Regions from separate parts of the Homo sapiens genome. Here region 1 is linked to region 2. Evidence: promoter capture Hi-C in 16 types of primary human blood cells and fetal thymus (Javierre and others, 2016). All regions are on one chromosome and are shown on one strand. The core of a region is centred on a gene start or on the middle of the fragment in contact, and the rest is flanking DNA. Distances in the headings are between cores, read along the strand shown. Region 1 overlaps LOC101928972 (a long non-coding RNA gene). Region 2 holds the start of CA12 (carbonic anhydrase 12).

What was found. The method cuts DNA at HindIII sites, captures the fragments that hold promoters and counts their contacts. A CHiCAGO score of 5 or more calls a contact.
Region 1: a contact is called between a fragment that was not itself captured here and the fragment with the promoter of CA12 in region 2, in 2 of 17 cell types (M2 macrophages and M1 macrophages). The highest score is 5.4, in M2 macrophages.

Annotation. Positions count from the first base shown.
Region 1 is chr15:63,171,925-63,178,230 of GRCh38, forward strand. It overlaps LOC101928972 (a long non-coding RNA gene), which reads right to left. Exons shown (of 4, transcript XR_932355.4): 4 at 6,143-6,306. Among named protein-coding and RNA genes, the nearest start is that of RAB8B, 15 kb to the right of the region's middle. The HindIII fragment of the contact is 1,949 bases long and covers 1,483-3,431 here.
Region 2 is chr15:63,377,712-63,383,366 of GRCh38, forward strand. CA12 (carbonic anhydrase 12) reads right to left here and starts at 4,135. Exons shown (of 11, transcript NM_001218.5): 1 at 3,925-4,135. The coding sequence starts at 4,009. RefSeq lists enhancers at 3,819-4,339, 4,340-4,859. The HindIII fragment of the contact is 7,810 bases long and covers 695-5,655 here.

The DNA.
Region 1 (6,306 bases), core at 1,207-3,706, 210 kb before region 2:
TTATTTATAAAAAGAGGTTTGACTCACAATTCCACACGCTGTACAGGAGGCATGGCTGGGGAGGCCTCAGGAAACTTACAATCATGGTGGAAGGCGAAGAGAAAGCAGGCACATTGTCTTTGTTTGTTTGTTTTTGTTTTTGAGATGGAGTCTCCCACTGTTGCCCAGGCTGGAGTGCAGTGGCACAATCTTGGCTCACAGCAACCTCAGCCTCCCAGGTTCAAGCGATTCTCCTGCCTCAGCCTCCCAAGTAGCTGGGACTACAGGCATGCGCCACCACGCCCAGCTAATTTTTTGTATTTTTAGTAGAGATGGGGTTTCACTGCGTTAGCCAGGATGGTCTCGATCTCCTGACGTCGTGATCTGCCCGCCTCGGCCTTCCAAAGTGCTAGGATTACAGGCATGAGCCACTGCTCTCGGCCTGGCACGTGTTACATGGCCGAAGCAGGGGGAAGAGAGCTAAGGGAGAGGTGTTACAGACTTTTAAACAACCAGATGTCATAAGAACTCACTATCACGAGAACAGCAAGGGGGAAGGCCGCCCCCATGATCCAATCATCTCCCACCAGGCCTCTCCTCCAACACTGGGGATTACAATTCACACATGAGATTTCGGCAGGGACACAAATCCAAACCATATCACCATGTCTTTAAGTGAAGTAGGAAAGACACAAGACTTTAAAGGAAGGAATGGATCCTAGATAGGCCTGAGCCTCGTAGCGTGTTCTCAGTAAGCACTGTCCCTGAAGAAAAGACTCCTATCATGAGCTGTCAGCCAGCAAACCCAGGCAGGGATGATAGGAAGACCTGCAGAGGAGATCTTTGGAAAGAGCTTTTCCCTCAGTGTGACACTTTAGATCTCAAGGATCTCTCCAGAACAGTCCCAGGAATAAACGGATACACCTTGTTCTTTGTACTTTGATTGCAAAAACCAGCCCATCATCTGCCACCAGCTGGACCCAGTGAATTTTGGAGCTGCCTGCCATGCAGACATCTGAGATGTGCGTTGATTACATGCTCTGCCCCCCCACTGCCATTGCTAAGCCCTGCTTTCTGTTCAGGCAATGTGAGCCAACTGTGCCTTCCTGCTCCTCTGTTGTCTGCAGCAGTCTGTGATCAGGACTCAGAGGCTTAACCATAGCAGTGGAAAGCAGGATGCACTCCAAACTTAGCTGACTTTGGATAAAATGGCTCTAAAGCTCTTTTTCATTTATATACAACTTTACATTACAAAGCCCATCACAATCAGCATTAATTAAACCTGCCACTCATTGCCCTCTGAGGTAGAGCTGAATTAGTCTGCTTATTTTACAGCTGACAAAACAGACAGAAAGGCTTAAGGATTTGCTGAAGTGAAGTGGGGTTCAATCAAGGAAGCCTGGCATGATTCCCTTTCTAGTTCATTCTTCTTCTCCTGGAGGAGGACTTCAAAATGCCTAGCTCCTAACTCTGAGCAGCTAAAGGAAGCCAAGTGGGAAGAGAAGCTTGGCAGAGCAGCCGTGGCGATCTAGAACAGAACATCAGTGTGAGGTTTGGATGATGTGAGCACAGCCAGGTCATGTTTTCCTGATTCTCAGTGGATATTACACACATGCGCGCGCAAGCACACACACACACATGCGCACACGCACACACACATACACACACACACACACACACAGTTTCCCTTGTTGGGTCAGGGAGCAGAAGGATGTTGGAACGTAGTTGGAGCGCTGGTTGGCAGCAATGCTCTGTTTGACCTGGTGGCAAAGTGGCCCACCCATTACCCACACTCCAACCACTTACCAGAGCCTTTATATTAGAATTTTAAACACACTCAAAATCAAACACATTCCAAGGACAGGCCCCATTTTGTGGGGCATGGAGCAAGAATGAAAATGAAAACCAACATATCATATGTCTAAATATTTAAAAATTCTAGCCAAAGCTAACAAACTTGGGTTTCCTACCTTGACAGATATACCTTTACAATGATGCAGATAATTGGTTTGAATTTAGAATATTTCAGCTCCTTAGAGGTCCATACCAAAACGTGGTGGCCCAGGAGAGCAGCCCTGGCCCAGAACAGTGCCCTTCCTTCACCCCTCAAATTGGGCCCACATCATGAAGGGCCTCACACACACACGATGTGGATTCCAGCCCATATGTCCAAGCGCTGGCCATATCATCACCCCCTTTTGGTGGCCACTTGGGGCTATGGCCCAATTGTACAGTCCACCCTCAGAAGGATAGATCAGGGCTGGGTGCAGTGGCTCACACCTGTAGTCCCAGTACTTTGGGAGGCTCACTTGAGGTCAGGAGTTTGAGACCAGCCTGGCCAACATGGTGAAAACCCGTCTTTACTAAAAATACAAAAATTAGCTGGGCATGGTAGTAGGTGCCTATAATCCCAACTACTCGAGAGGCTGAGGCAGGAGAATCACTTGAACCCTGGAGGTGGAGCTTGCAGTGAGCTGAGATTGCGCCACTGCACTCCAGCCTGAGCAACAGAGCAAGATTCAGTTTCAAATAAAAAATAAATAAAAAAGGCCGAGCACGGTGGCTCATGCCTGTAATCCTAGCACTTCGGGAGGCCGAGATGAGTGGATTGCCTCAGCTCAGGAGTTCAAGACCAGCCTGGGCAACACGGTGAAACCCTGTCTCTATTAAAATACAAAAAATTAGCCGGGCGTGGCCATGTGTGCCTGTAATCCAAGCTACTTGGGAGGTTGAGGCAGGAGAATTGCTTGAACCCCGGAGGTGGAGGTTGCAGTGAGCTGAGATCACACCACTGTACTCCAGCCTGGGTGACAGAGCGAGACTCCGTCTCCAAAAAATAAAAAAAGAAGAAAAAGAAAGAAAGAAAGATCGATCAGGAGAAGAGGCCCATACCAATCCTGGAAGCAGGGCCATTGGCAGGGAATCCTGAGTTCTGGGTACCTGGAATGTAGCCTAAAAAGATGGCATGGCTCTGGGTGAGTAAATCCACTTAGCCTGTAAACTCCTTGCCCAGTGGAGAGGACTGACCAGAAGAGAACAAGGGTAGCATAGGGCTCTCTACACAGTGGGCCCCAGGGGAAGAGGCCCCTCTTGCCAAGACCTAAGAGCAAATCATATCTGGCCAAATAATAAATAAGCCAAAGATGTGAGTTAATAGAGTCTGCACAAATCTGGGTACCATTATTTCTACCTCAACTATACAACACAAAGGCATGAGCTGTTTCAATATTTTATCTGCTACCTCCAATAAATAACTTACTTATTCTGGGCAGTAGGCATTATCTCCAGTAGGTATAAGGGCCAGAGAACAAATGAATGAGCTCCATAAGTAAATATTTTACTGCTAAGGTTGCACTCCCATACAAAACCAGACATCAAAACTCTAGAGGATGATCCTAAGGTCAGTGCCACTGCTGCTGCCTCCCCAGAATGGACCAAGGGGGTGGAAGAGAAGCTTGATTCCCTGGACTGCTGGGCATTGCTTTTTGTGGGGGTTGCTTGGGTCAGTCAAGGTTGTGAGGAGCTGTCAGACAAAACAGCTTCTGTCCACATCATTTCCTTCAGAATCAGGGTCATGATCACAGTCCTGGCTTTGAGATGCAAAGAAGCTAAAATTATGAGCTTCCTTATTGTTCCCCCATATCTCAGTTTTGCATAATAATTTACAACATTTAATATTAAGGGAAATATGTCCACATGTAAAAAGTATTTTCATCACCAAATTCTCAAGGCAAAAGATGTAAGGAAATGTGTACAATGTTTATTTGGATGCAAATTCGTTGTTGTGTGTTCAAACGTTAACAGCATTGAATTCTGGATTCTCGGCTCAGGCGAGGGTTAGTTCAACTTTCTCCAACAATACTGTTCATAATATATGAAGGATACATTCCTTAATGATCTTTGGAGGTTGGTTATATAATTTAATTTCCTTAAAGTTTTTGTTTTGTTTTATTCTGTTTTTGAGACGGAGTCTCGCTCTGTCGCCCAGGCTGGAGTGCAATGGCACGATCTTGGCTCACCGCAACCTCCGCCTCCCAGGGGGTTCAAGTGATTCTCCTGCCTTAGCCTCCCAAGTAGCTGGGATTACAGGCGCCCATGCCCAGCTAATTTTTGTATTTTTAATAGAGACAGGTTGGCCAGGCTAGTCACGAACTCCTGACCTCAGGTGATCCAAGAGCCTTGGCCTCCCAAAGTGCTGGGATTACAGGCATGAGCCACCACACCCGGCTTCCTTTAAATTTTTTCGCTTTTCATATGGAGGTAGAAACAGAGCCCAAATCAGAATTTAAAAGTTGGTTCAGACTAGTAGGTGGTGGTCACTTCTGGGGTGTAAACAGGCAGGTTCTTTTCCTACCCCCTTCACCTTCTCCCCAACAGATCCACTATCTGTTCAGATAGAGCCATTCTGGAAAGCTAGGGACAATTTTTATTCCCTGACTAATCCCATTTTTGGTTGTCACTTGGCAACTTGGTCTATATTGCAGCCTGTACAAGCATCCAGCTTCCCGAAGGCATCCCTGAAACCTCGCTCAATGCAGTTCAGGTTCCCATGTCATCTTGATTCATCCTCCTTGCTCATCCATTTAAGGTGAATTGTGGGTCTAAAGTAGGTGACTCAACGCTGGTCAGCAAGACCTTGCTGGGATGGTTCACCCAAGAGCATTGCTCTTAGGTGATGCTGTTGATTGCTAGTAAAACCCAATGTCATTGATACTGAGTGTGGTAACCTTCCATGTATCAACAATAGTTAGGGAATTAGGTGTTCTAATACACTGGGTAATCCACTTAATTATAGACTACCAGTGTCTAAATAAATATAAACTAGTTTTGAAATAACTATAAGGCTGCGCGCAGTGGTTTATGCCTGTAATCCCAGCACTTTGGGAGGCCGAGACGGGTGGATCACTTGAGGTCAGGAGTTCAAGACCAGCCTGGTCAACATGGTGAAACCCCATTTCCACAAAATAATAAAAAAATTAGCCAGGCGTGGTGGCGCGCTCCTGTAATCCCAGCTACTTGGGAGGTTGAGGCAGGAGAATTGCTTGAACCTGGGAGGCAGAAGTTGGAGTGAGCGGAGATTGCACCACTGCACTCCAGCCTGGGCGACAGAGTGAGACTCTGTCAAAAAAAAAAAAAAAGAACTATAAACTAGCACCACAGTACATTACCAGTATATCATAATTCTACCTAGTATTTTAACTATTTAAGTGTGGGTCCCACCTCCCATGAAGGCCATGTGCTTCTTACGGAGTGGTCTGTGTCAGTTCATCTTTATTCCTCTTATGGTATCTAGTAAGTTGCTTTATATATTGTAGGTGCTAAAAGAGCTTTTGTTGAATGAAACTATAGAACACAAACTATCATTTACTAACATGACTTAATCCTGTGATGACTCAGAAGGCCCTCCAGGATCACACATTTCTTCAAGGTTGTTATTATGTGTGTTATCTATGGGGATGTTTAAACACAGACCAAGTGGTTGAAAGGGGAATTCTGCAGTGCCTGGAAGATAGGACTTGATAACTACCAGCTCATTCCAATTCTGTGTGTATGTATTGAAGAGTCAAATATAGAAATGATCTCATTTATTATCACCTGAATGAAACATGTTTATGAAACCAAGAGATTACAAGTGAAAACTGTCAAATAGCCTCTGTTAATAAGCCTTAACCAGAATTCATGGTCCTTGACCATGATAAGTCAATTAATCTGAAAAGGTAGGATTCCATTAGTGCTGTGAGTGAATTATTACCATTATTTAATTTTATTAAAACCTGCTCATTAGATTGTAATTTACTAATTAATGCAAACATATTTGTCACTATGTGGCTAATATATGCCAAGCCTGTGTTAGTCAGTCATTAGGGATACAATGTAAATATAATTCATGCCCTCAAGAAATTCAAATAATTTCTCTGTAAAAACACTTCATTGTGCAGATCATTTTTACAGCACTTTAAATGTCAATGTGGGAAATTAGCCTGGGTGTGATATGACCCTCTAACCTAGCCTATAATTCATTCAAAATACAGAACAATACAAAGCAAAAAATGCCAGTTAGTTTAATTACTTGACATTAGTCTTTTTCTCAAAAACACAATATACAGAATGTTCATTCAGAATTCTGGGTAAATATGCTTCTGCACAGATGATTTTAATTTCAGGTTAGTACAACATCTGCCAGTCCCCCAGAGCTTGAGGGTGAAGCAGCTTCCCCAGGTGTGGAGGAGAGAGAGCCATCACAGCGCCCCACCCTCTTCTCTGATCTTTCTGTGGATCTGACAGTGACAGAGGCGGCAGCAGGGAGCCCTGCCCTGGGACTCAGGA
Region 2 (5,655 bases), core at 2,885-5,384:
TGGATCTTTTTAAAATGATTCTTTTGCTATTATCTCCATATCTCTATATAACATGCTAATATTGTTTTACCTTGATTGTTTTATGTTTAGGCATTATTTATTGACATCCCACCCTGGAAGAGAAGAGTTCAGATCTCTTTCTTACACTCATAGCCCATCTCCTCCTTTTGTAGGTGAGGAAATGAAAGTCCACCAAGGTGAAGTGTCCTGACCAATATCATATTCCCACTGGAAGGAGTCCCACCGCATTTACCATTAATTTAGCATTAGTGCCATGAACTTAGGGAATCTTCAAGTCTCCTCAATCTTTGGAGTAGTTAAGTGGAGGAGTCCAGACCCCCTGGAGTATCCGATGAGTATTATGGACCTCTCCCAGTAAAAATTTCCCTAAGCTGGCTGGGTACGGTGGCTCACCCCTGTAATCCCAGCACTTTGGAAGACCAAGACAGGCAGATCGCCTGAGGTCAGGAGTTCGAGACCAGCCTGGCCAACATGGTGAAACCCTGTCTCTACTAAAAATACAAAAATTAGGCAGGCGTGGTGGCGGGTGCCTGTAATCCCAGCTGCTGGGGAGGCTGAGGCAGGAGAATTGCTTGAACCCGGGAGGCGGAGGTTGCAGTGAGCTGAGATTGTGCCATTGCACTCCAGAATGGGTGACAGAGCGAGACTCTGTCTCAAAAAAAAAATTTCCCTAAGCTTAGACACATAAAGTTTTATATACAAGTCATTTCAGAAGGTCCACAGACTCCCCTGAAACCAGCTATGGGTGCATTGAGAGTTGAGGGTCCCAAGATCAACCTCCCTTGAATTAGTAATTAGACATTCAGAACCACGGGGAAACCAAACTTGTATGTGACCCCCAAGTTTACTGCTCACCCCTTTGCTGAAACAACAATGAAAAAAAATAAAGAAAGCATTGCTTTCAAACCAAGCTATAGAAGACATAAAACCTCTTCTGGACATTTTCTTCAGTCTTTTGTGTGAGAGGTTCATTATTAAGATGTAATCCCAGACCTTAGAGATATAATAAGCCAGATCATTACCTCTTAGCAGGCAGAACAGTTGGAGGCCCAGGATGTAAAATTCCACAAATAACAGAGGAGTTCACCCTTACTTTTCCCCTGAGGAGGCACAGGCCACTCCAGTGATCCTGGAGGCCACTAGAAACACATCTGCTGCCTGAGCACTGCTGCCTTGCCAGCAGTTTGCATTGTACCTGCTCACATTCAAATCATAGCCTTATACCCTACATCTTCTGCTACCCTCCCAGGGCTCGCTAATCAAGGTTTTCCCTGTTGTTGGAGTTCTCATCCTCAGATGAGGCCTCAGCATCACACTCTGGAAAGCTCAGGGCTAAAAGTCATAGAGTGGACATCTGGGACTGTGAGGTCGCGGTGGTGACATAGGACTGGGGACTTGTTGAAAGGCAGCAGCCTCCAGAGCAACATTCCCTGCCCTCCTCTCTGTGAGTGAGCTGGCTTGGGACTCCAGACTCGGCACTTTGGGTATAAATGGCAGTGTCTGGAGGGGCTCAGGAGCTGGAGGGCTGGGGAGAAGCGGCGTTGTAAGTGAGGATGGTGAGTCAAGGGGGTTCATCGGGTGAGGATCAGGGCCCCAGCTCAGCTCTGACCTCAGGAAGTCTCTCTAAAAGTGTGTGTATGTGTGCGTGTGTGTGTGTGCACGCGCACGAAAGTGTGCTTTATTCAGGAATTGCACCCCCTGGTTCCCCACTTCTAGCTGTAAGAACAGAAGGCTTAAAAGGATTAAACTGATTCCACAAGCGAGGCCAGGCCAAGGCCTCAGTGGCATCCTGAGGGAGCAGGCCCTTCCTGGAGGGGAATAGTTTCCTTCCCAAGGAAGGTTATCTGTTCCATCTGGGAAACCTGGGAGGCTCAGCCTGAAACCTGTTAGAACCTGCAGACCCAGCTGGTACTGGGCAGGGAGGTTCCCCTGGAGGGAATGCCCAGAGAAAATGGTATTTACCAAGATCCATATCAGAGGTCCTGGGCCCTGCCTGCTTCCTGTGCTGGGTGCTAGAACTTTCCCTGAGTAACCATCTCCTGGGTAGCCCAAGACTGCCTGGCTCTCCACACCAGGTTTGGGCAGGGCAAGCTCTGCAGAATTCACTGAAATGCCCCCCAAAGCCACGGCAACTAAGAATTCCAAGGGTTTCTCCAGAAGACACTTGACTTCACATTATTATGCTCCCTCCTGGGCCCCTGACATTGTTCTTGAACATTCTCCAATGCTGGAAGTTTAAATGCACCAGGCAGAGAGCAGATCACACTTTGACCCCATTACTCAGCTTAACTCCTCTCCACCTCCAACTTTGGGTTCATGCTGACATTCTACACCTCAGTGATTTTTGCTTTGACCTGTCCTCTAAGGCAGTTAAAAACCCAAGGAAACTGCATGAGAATTTACAGAATAAAAGCTGTGCTCTACCCAGGGGTAGGCAGTCTCCTTCCTCAGAGTGAGGCGAAAGTGGAGTTTTGACTACAAACTTCCCCAGTCCCAACTTGGAGAATTGGGAGAGGAGATAAGGAGGAGGGAAAGGGAGAGGGAAGAGGAAGAGCAGGGAAAGTAGGGAAGAAAGGAAGGGGAGGGAGGGAAGAGAACAGGGAAGGGCAGGAAAAGAGAGAGAAGGGAGGCAGAGCTGCCCCAGAGTGAGAGGAGCAACCAGCTATAGGAAAGAGGGCCAACTAATGGCTGTTTCTCCCTTTGGTCTTGGAGCAACTTAGGACTAAAGAGATTTCCAGGGAAACTTTGGTCTCAGTGCAGCTTTCGTAAAAGGAAACATGTAAAGTTTGTGGTTTTAAAACTTGATTTTCACTTTTACATCGCTCCTTTCTCCCAACTTCTGTTACATCGCTTCTGTTTCTCCCTGACCAGATGAGGGAGATAATATCAAGCACATCATGCCAGCTAGTTGACTGGAATTTAATTAAGAGTTATCCACAGCCTGGCTCCCCTGCCCTTCCCCATGGGCACTGTGACCTCCAAGAGAGGAGGCTCAGAGCTTTTATGCTGCTGAGCAGGACACATTTCCCACCACCACTGCCTCGCCAGGAAGAATCTAGTTTCAGCCAGTAAAATCACTTTCGGTCCAAAATCACTTTCTTATTCCAAAAGATTAATGAACCAGCCTTGGCTGTACACGTGTTAGCTCACTGGCCCGGCGTGAGCCCACAGTTCAGGTCCCCTCTGCCACCTCCTCCTGTCACTCCACGGAGCCTCCATTCAGTCCCTCAGCCTCCAGCCTTTTGGGATTTAGTGTTCTAATTACAATCAGAAATATGCTGTGTGTGTGTGTGTGTGTGTGTGTGTGGTTTGTGTGCGTGCGCGCGTGCGTGTGTGTGTGTACGTGCACACACACGTACATTCAGCATAGTAGAGCCCTCCTGGAGAAAAACAATGATTAAGAATGGGATGCATCATCCCTTTGACTTGTAGGTAAGACTTAATGGTAAAGATCCTCTCCTCCAAAGAAAAGCGCCTACCACTGTCTGCGGGTTCTGCACAGGGGCACAGCAAACCTTTCTCTGTGCTTACCCCAATCAGAATGCCACAGTCATGTCTCTACTTTCTAAACGTGGATCAGGGGAACGCTGTTTTAAATCTTGGCTTTGCATCTCCTCCCTGGTTAGCAAGTTCCCAAGCCACATCTTCAGAGCTGGCGGTGCCCGGGAGTACACGCAAACATTTTAACACCAAATCTGCGCCAAGCGCCACTAGAAAGCAACGTGCTTCCCGACCCAACCTCAGCAAAGGAAAACGGAGCATCCTTTCTTGAGAATCTACTATTTGGTACTACACCTTCCCTGCTCCCCGCAGCAATGATTTTACTTTATCATTGAAGAGCCTTCAGCCCAGGGGCGGCTGAGCGCTCAGGAGTGTTAGGAAAGAAGCAGGCGGAAACTTTACCGTTCACTGGGGCCGGGCTGGAAGGCTGTTCCTTTAAGATCACCAGCAGGAGCACGGCCGCCGCGTGCAGGCTGCGCCGGGGCATCTTCGCGGGCTCCTGCGGGGCGGGCGCGGGCTGTGCCGGGGGCTCCCGGTGGCCGCTCGCTCTCCAGCTGCACACCGGGACCGCGTGCGCGCAGCCTGGGTGCCGTGGCGAGTACGTCCGCCCTTCGCTCTCCTGGCTTCCCCGGGCAGCTTTTATGGAGCAACTCAACGCCAAACACTTGATGTCATCGTGCGGGGAGGGGGTGGGGGAGGAGAACGCCCTGCCCACCGGAGGGCTGGCGCCCCAGATCCTAGGTGAGTTGTAGCCTTGACTTCAGCAGCACTCTGCGGGTCCCCGGCGCTCCTCTGGGCCAGGGCTGACCCAGGAACACAGTTCTCCGAGGAGCTGCTGGCAGGCGTGGGTGAGATCCGCCTGTCTCACATCCAGAAGGGTGCGTCTAGGGATTCCTTCAGTGGCATGCCCTTGGTCTGTCACTGGTCCTGTAACAGCCCAACGAGTTCACCTTGCCCGCTGCTTAGACAGAGCCCATTTATCAAGACAGGGGAGTTGCAATGGAGAAAGTAATTCACGCAGAGCTTGCCGTGCCGGAGACCGGAGGTTTTCGTTCCTTTGTTTGTTTGTTTGAGACGGAGTCTCGCTCTGTTGCCCAGGCCGGAGTGCAATAGCGTGATCTCGGCTCACTGCAACCTCCGCCTCCCGGGTTCAAGCGATTCTCCTGCCTCAGCCTCCCGAGTAGCTGGGATTACAGGCACATGCCACCATGCCCAGATAATTTTTGTATTTTTAGTAGAGGCGGGGTTTCGCCAGTTTAAGGCTGGCCTTAAACTCCCGACCTCAGATAATTCACCTGCCTTGGCTTCCCAAAGTGCTGGGATTACAGGCGCCCACCACCACACCCGGCTAATTTTTCTAATTTTAGTAGAGACGGGGTTTCACCATGTTGGCCAGGCTGGTCTGGAACTCCTGACCTCAAATGATCCACCTACCTTGGCCTCCTAAAGTACTGGGATTCCAGTACTCAAATCAGTCTCCCCAAGCATTCCGGGAGTTGTTTGTTTGTTTGTTTGTTCAGACGGAGTCTCCCTCTGTCGCCCAGGCTGAAATGCAGTGGCATGGTCTTGGCTCACTGCAACCTCTGCCTCACGGGTTCAAGCGATTCTCCTGCCTCAGCCTCCTGGGTAGCTGGGATTACAGGCACGCGCCGCCACACCCAGCTAATTTTTGTATTTTTAGTAGAGACGGGGTTTCACCATGTTGGCCAGGCTGGTCTTGATCTCTTGATCTCGTGATCCACCTAAAGTGCTGGGATTACAGGCGTTGAACCACTGCACCCTGCCTCTGGGAGTTTTTAAAGATAATTTGGCAGATAGGGGCTTGGGACTTGGGGAGTGCTGATTGGTCAGGTTGCAGATGGGATCACAGGGGGGTTGAAGTAACGTTTTCTTGCAGTCTTCTGTTCCTGGGTGGGATCGCAGAACTGGTTGAGCCAGATCACACACGGTCTGAGTGGTGTCAGCTGATCCATCCAGTGCAGGGTCTGCAAAATAGGATGTTAGATTTTACAATAGCGATGTTATCCCCAGCAGCAACTTGGGAAGGTTCAGACTCTTGCAGCCTGACGCCGCAGGACCCCTAAACCATAATTTCTAATGTTGTAACTAATAGATTAATCGTACAAAGGCAGA